Linked DNA regions of Homo sapiens: region 2 is linked to region 1. The links are contacts of gene promoters, found by promoter capture Hi-C in blood cells and fetal thymus (Javierre and others, 2016). All regions are on one chromosome and are shown on one strand. Each heading gives the region's core, a stretch centred on a gene start or on the middle of the fragment in contact. The rest is flanking DNA. Distances are from core to core; before and after follow the strand shown. Region 1 holds the start of ATP6V0E2-AS1 (ATP6V0E2 antisense RNA 1). Region 2 holds the start of REPIN1 (replication initiator 1).

What was found. The method cuts DNA at HindIII sites, captures the fragments that hold promoters and counts their contacts. A CHiCAGO score of 5 or more calls a contact.
Region 2: the fragment with the promoter of REPIN1 here is called in contact with the fragment with the promoter of ATP6V0E2-AS1 in region 1 in 10 of 17 cell types (fetal thymus, endothelial precursors, megakaryocytes and 7 more); the score reaches 15.2 in fetal thymus.

What each region holds. Positions count from the first base shown.
Region 1 is chr7:149,872,545-149,875,244 of GRCh38, reverse strand. ATP6V0E2-AS1 (ATP6V0E2 antisense RNA 1) reads left to right here and starts at 1,383. Exons shown (of 4, transcript NR_027040.1): 1 at 1,383-2,021. ATP6V0E2 (ATPase H+ transporting V0 subunit e2) reads right to left here and starts at 1,276. Exons shown (of 4, transcript NM_145230.4): 1 at 1,076-1,276. The coding sequence starts at 1,179. RefSeq lists silencers at 840-1,019, 1,430-1,509, 1,540-1,749 and enhancers at 1,040-1,179, 509-1,477. The HindIII fragment of the contact is 7,156 bases long and covers 1-2,700 here.
Region 2 is chr7:150,367,323-150,370,237 of GRCh38, reverse strand. It overlaps REPIN1 (replication initiator 1), which reads right to left and starts at 1,416. Exons shown (of 3, transcript NM_001099695.2): 1 at 1,297-1,416; 2 at 370-567. The coding sequence starts at 526. The region is part of intron 3 of REPIN1-AS1 (REPIN1 antisense RNA 1); the gene reads left to right. RefSeq lists enhancers at 1-232, 233-1,038, 1,039-1,843, 1,883-1,942 and silencers at 503-652, 1,163-1,632. The HindIII fragment of the contact is 10,402 bases long and covers 1-2,915 here.

The DNA.
Region 1 (2,700 bases), core at 134-2,633:
TAGAATTCAAAATTCATGGAGCAAGGGGAAGGAAAACAATAGGCTAGAAGACAGGGCAAGAAGCAGGCAGACTGTGAGCCAGTTCTGAGGCCCAGTGAGTTGTTACAAAGAGAACAGGGACTAGCCACTTTGCGTGTACTCAGAGAAGACCAGAGACAGATGCTTCAAGTGCAGCAAAAGAAATTTCAGTCAAACTGAAGCAAGAACTCACCAAGAATAGCAGGAGACGCAAGACACGAAAATGGTTTACAAAGTGAAGCTGTGGGATCCCAAACCCTGCCTGTCTTTAAGAACAAAGGCAGCACTCACATGTCCAAACGGCCTTTGGGCAAAGCTAACTCTAATCCAAACGAGGCCCTTGATCTTTGATCTAAAGCACTGCAAGCTGGTGCTGGACACAGGAGCACGCGATCCCTTTTTCAACATTACTAAGCAGGTTGTGCCAGTCCTGGCTGGGCACTGAGTAGACAATGGTGAACTGGACAAACTCCAGCCCCTGGGAACATGCAGTCAAGGGAAGGGTGCTTTGTAACTGAAGATAATATGAAGCAGAAACTGGTGAATGGCGCAGCAATCTGCTAGAGGACCTTCGAAAAATAACGCCAGCTAAACTTATCCCATACCTACAAAGTGTCACGCACTGGTAGGTGTTTTAAATGCGTTACCGCAGGTCATCCTCACAGCAGCCTTTTAAGGCAGGAGTCGACATTATCTCCATTTTACCCATGAAGAAACTGAGACTTGATATTGGCTCTAGGTCACACAGCTAGCAAGGAGTGGAGAAACTGCGTCAGTGCCCACTTGTGCCCTTTACTGGCTGCAGGAGGGGTGACAGACATCTCCAATGTCACTCTCCTCTTTACCTTCTGGATATGCCCTCTCGCCCCACCTCCTGCCTGTTCCCGGCTGTCAGAGACCCAGGTGCAGAGAGACCTCAGAGGTGGCGTCCGGGGTCCTGGCGTCCCTCCTGCGGACGCTCGCTGCAGAGCAGGAAGCCGCCGCCCCGGGGCGGAGGGGCGAGCCGGGCCAGGGGGCCGGGGTGGAGAGGTCTGCAGGGCCTGCGCGCTTTCCTTACCCGCGGTTGGGTCCCTTCGGCACGAACCAGGGCCCGGCGATGCCGACGAGGCCCCAGAACGTGGTGAAGATGATGACCGGGAGGGCGAATGAGTGCGCCGTCATGGCCGGGCGCAGGATGCCCAGGCAGGATGCAGGGCCGAGCAGCGGGCGCTGCAGGTGCGCGGGTCCCCAGCCGGGCAGCGCGCTGAGCATGCGCAACAGGAGTCGAGCACCCGAAGCGATCAGCCGGGCCGGGCCGCGCACGCGCATCTCCTGATCCAGCCCGCCGCGCTGTCACTCAGGACCTGCCTAGGAGCCCACTCGCTGATTGGCTGAGCAGGGCCGCGGACAGAGAGAAATGCCGAGGAATAGGGGCGCGGCCGCCCGGTTTCGGCGATGGGTTATAGGGTCCGCGTCAGCCCCGCGCCCGCACAGCCAACGTCACGCCGCATTCTTATTTCCAAAGACCCCTGGAGCTTGGGGTCCCACCCCAGCGGTCTTTCGGGGCGTCCCCTGCCCTTCACGCGCCGCGCCGGCTCGGCCCGAAGCGCCCTGCGGACCCGCAGCCTGGGCCGCCCCGAACCTGACGGCCCCGCGGGGGTCGGACGCGGGAGGAACGGCCTCGCTTTCAGAGACGCAGCGGGAGGGCGGTCCCCGCTGTCCCTCTGGCCGGGTCCTCAGCACGCGTTCTCCTCACTCCCAGGACTAGCGAGCGGCGGGCGCGGACCGGGGCCTGGGGTCGGAGGCGGCGCAGCCAGAAAGGCCCCAGCGGCGCTGAGACGTTTGGGGGAAGGCGGGGGCTTCGCGTTTCGATGGCGGGAAGCGGAATGAGGTTGGACCGGCCGGGCCGGCGTTCAGGGACCCGGCGGGAGGCGGAGGGCTGGCGTCCTCGCGGACATCCATCTGCAGCGAACCAGGCAGAGGCTTTGGGATTAGATCCTTGACTCCTTGCGTCAGTAGTTAAGGTTTGTTTAAATATAAAATGGGATGGCCCTTCTTACAAGGTTGCTGGAGGATTAAATGAATAGGCATGTGGAAAGCACCTAGTATAATAAGGCTCGGTAGTTTCTTCCATCAGGGCTGGAAGAGACCACGGAGCCTGCTTTCCTCCTTCGGCGTTTGGATCTCACATATCCCTTCTTCTCTGGCGATCAAAAATCCCTATCTTCTGTAGAGATCCCTTTTACAGATCAGTGGCCTCCAGGCGGTATCTCTAGCAACAAGTGCTACCCCAAGCGGCCGGCCACACATATTCCCTGGCTTCATGACATAGGGAGGCGCAGTCCCCACGTGATGCAGAAGGGAAATGTGCCTGTCCTTGCACTGACCCCGTCAGCCATGTGTGCTCCTGGCTGTTTTCTGAAATCAAGAACCAGTTACATCCGCCCTTCTCCGTTCTCTAGTTGAAACCTCCCTATCCATCCTTCCAACATTCATGTAAGTTGGAGGTGGGCGTGGGATGACACCAAACTGTTAGGTATAAAATACCATCCTAGCCTTCGAGGGGTTTCTAAAGTAGTTGAGGAGTGATATATTCTGGTAAAATCATAATGCTGGACAGCGCAGTTCTAAGAGCCCTGTGATCAAAGTAGCCAAATGCCCATTATGAGAATTCAGAGGGTGGAGAAATCCAGGAAGACTCCC
Region 2 (2,915 bases), core at 167-2,666, 490 kb before region 1:
CTGCAATCTCAGTCCCCTGCCCGGTCCTGCCCCAACCTCGCCAGGGGCTGCCCCATGTTCAGCTCTTCCACAGCTCAGGGGAGCCCAGATTCCTGCACAGGAGCCTCCTCCGCGGAAGGAGGAAGGAAGCAGTTAGGCTCCTAAGGGCCCTTCTGTGCCTGCTCACAAGCTCCAGACACATCCTTCTAAATTCCCTAGAGCGCACTCTCTCTTCTCAGGGAACACAAAGGTCACTCATTCCCAGTGTCAGACTGTGCACAGGGAAGACCCCAGGATATGAGAAAGGGCCATTTCCTTCCGCCGGGATGGGGACGCCCGTGCACCCCTGTTGTGGCGTGGTTTGGGAGCACAGCAAAGGCCAGACTCTACCCTGGAGACTGCAGAGCTGGGGATGAGGCTTTTTCCAGCTCCTCTTGGGGATGTTCCTGGGGATACTTCCGCGGCTGCAGCGCCTGCTTCGGCCCACACTCCGGTAGCCCCCAGGTGTTAGAGAAAACTGCAGTAATAAAGACACCCCTATCCCCATGGCAGAGCTCAGACCTCTGACTGCAGAGAGGCCAGCCTTACCTGTGGGGAGGGAAGAGAAAACAGAAGTGAGGCTCTGAGCTCCTCTAGGGCAGTCAGCTTTGTGTCCTCACCAGCCACAACCCCTCCCCCCACAAAGCCACACGCACCAGCCATAAGCCCCACATCCTGCCTGGCAGAGTGACCTTAATGGACATTGGATTAATAAATGAATGTGCCCCTTCAACAAGGAAGCACACTGCTGTCTTTCGGGGTCACTTTCTTCCCTGGTAAGGTCACGGAACGAATTCTCCATTCTGTGGCCAGAGTCTGGGCTTTCCCTGATGGCCAAAGGCCGGCCTATGGCAGGAACTCTGGAATCCCTGCTGGCTCCCCTTCCCCCAGCCTCCTCCCGACAGGAATTCCAGGCCTATTTCCCATGGGGCTGCGCAGGGCCAGCTGGTGTGACCACGACTCCGTCAGAATCCCCTTCCGCATCGCGGCTGGCCGCGGGTGGCAGAAGCCCCACACCGCCCTTTTGTACTGATGCGTGTCCTCCGTCCACGCTCCCGGGCACACGGGTCCCGTTCTTGCGAGTGAGCCATTTCGGGTCCCACGCACGGCGCAGCTCGCGGAGCCTGTGCGCAGGTGCGCTCCCCCACCCCCGCAGATCCAGCAGCGTCCCCCCCCGCGCACTCACACACGGTCGCGCACACTCACGGTCACGCGCCCCGCAGGTGGAGCGGCCCCCCGCGGGCCCGCGGTGGCCCCGCGCCCCTGCCCCGGCCGTACCTCTGCGGCGGGCTGTGCAGGGACGCGGCGCCCGTCCATGGAGCCCGAAGGCCGGCCTCCGCGGCCCACTCTCGCTCCCCGCCCCGCCGCGGCGACAGCGGCAGGTTCGAGTTCACAACTGCCAGGCCCGTCCCCAACCTCCCCCCGCCGGGTTCCCAGCGCCACGTGACTACAGGAGCTGCCGAGGGTCAGTCGCCGGCTCCCGCGGCCGCGGCCTGGGGGCGGGGAGGGACTGCCGGGGCCGGGGCGCGGGCGCCCCCGCCAAGAGCGGGCCGGGTCACTCAAGCCACTGCCGCGCCAGGGCGGCAGGCCTCGGAGGGTCGGACTCCGTTGCCATGGCGACCACCAGCCCGGGTTTCTCTGGGACTGGCCGGAGCTCAAGTTTCCCGACCCTTTGTCCCTGCGGAGCACGCGCGTCCCCGGGCGACCGCGTGGCTGGCCTATGGTCACCGGGGTGTTCGGCCTTAGCTGCCTTATGAGAGGCTGGGAGCCCGTCGGGAGACTTCAAAGAGGGCTCCGGCAAGCCCCCGGAGCGTCGTTGCCCGGGCCTTTCTCAGGCCGCGCACCCCGGCCGCAGTGCGGACGCTTGCGGCCGCGGCGGTCCCGGGACGGCGGTGGCGCACCTGGAAGGCCCTAGCTTCCGATTTGTTCCAAAGTGGAGCACAAAAAGGCCCGATCCTGCGAACTTTGAAAAGGCCTCTCTTCACTCTTTTCTAGAAATTAAGAAAGAGCAGAAGTTGCTGGGCTTCCTCTGGCTGCGGGCCAAGCGTGGGGCGACGGCCGAGGTGGCCGTTGGCGCACGTGGGGCATTTCGCTTGGAAAGGCTCAGCAGCCTGTGTGGCGTCTGCGGTGGCAGGTGCGAGCCTGTGCCCATGACTCACCCACTAGCAGGTGGCCCTGGCTTTCCAAACTAAACACTTCCTGGGGTTTCCAGGGTAGTACAATTTCATGTACTTTCATGCTTTTCAACACAGGCAATTTTTGAATTGTATAATTAGTCGTAAAAATACTTTTTAAATCTATTGCATAAATAGGAAATAGGGGAACATAAAACTCAGTTTTACCTCGTAGAGTCAATTACATTTAATATTTTGGTATGTTGCCTCCGGTGTTTTCTCTACGTATATCCATGGCATGTCTGGCATAATTGGAATAATGCCTTGCGAAGATGTATTCTGCCTTCTTCACTTAACACGATCTTGTGAATTTTCTTCCATTTTATTAGATATTCTTTTAAACATGATTATTTATGGCTGTATAAAAGGAATATATTTTTTAAATGTTTTCTAAATTATCTTCCAGGAAAACGTATTAGTTTTCCCTGAGAAATGCCCATTTTCCATATACTTGACAACACAGACTTTTTTAAAAAAAAAATTTAGTTTGAAATGGTTATTTCTCATCTTTTGTACTTGCATTTCTTAGAGTACTAGTTAGCTGGATTGTTTTTTCACATGGTTATTTTTTGCCAGTTTTATTTTCTCTTGTGAATTTGTTTATGTCCATTTGCCCACTTTTCTATTTGCCCATTTTAAAAGTTGGGGAGTTGGTTTATTGTTTGGGGGGCACTCATAAAGTACAGGTATTAAAGACTTGTCATGTTTGTTGCAGACGTGTTT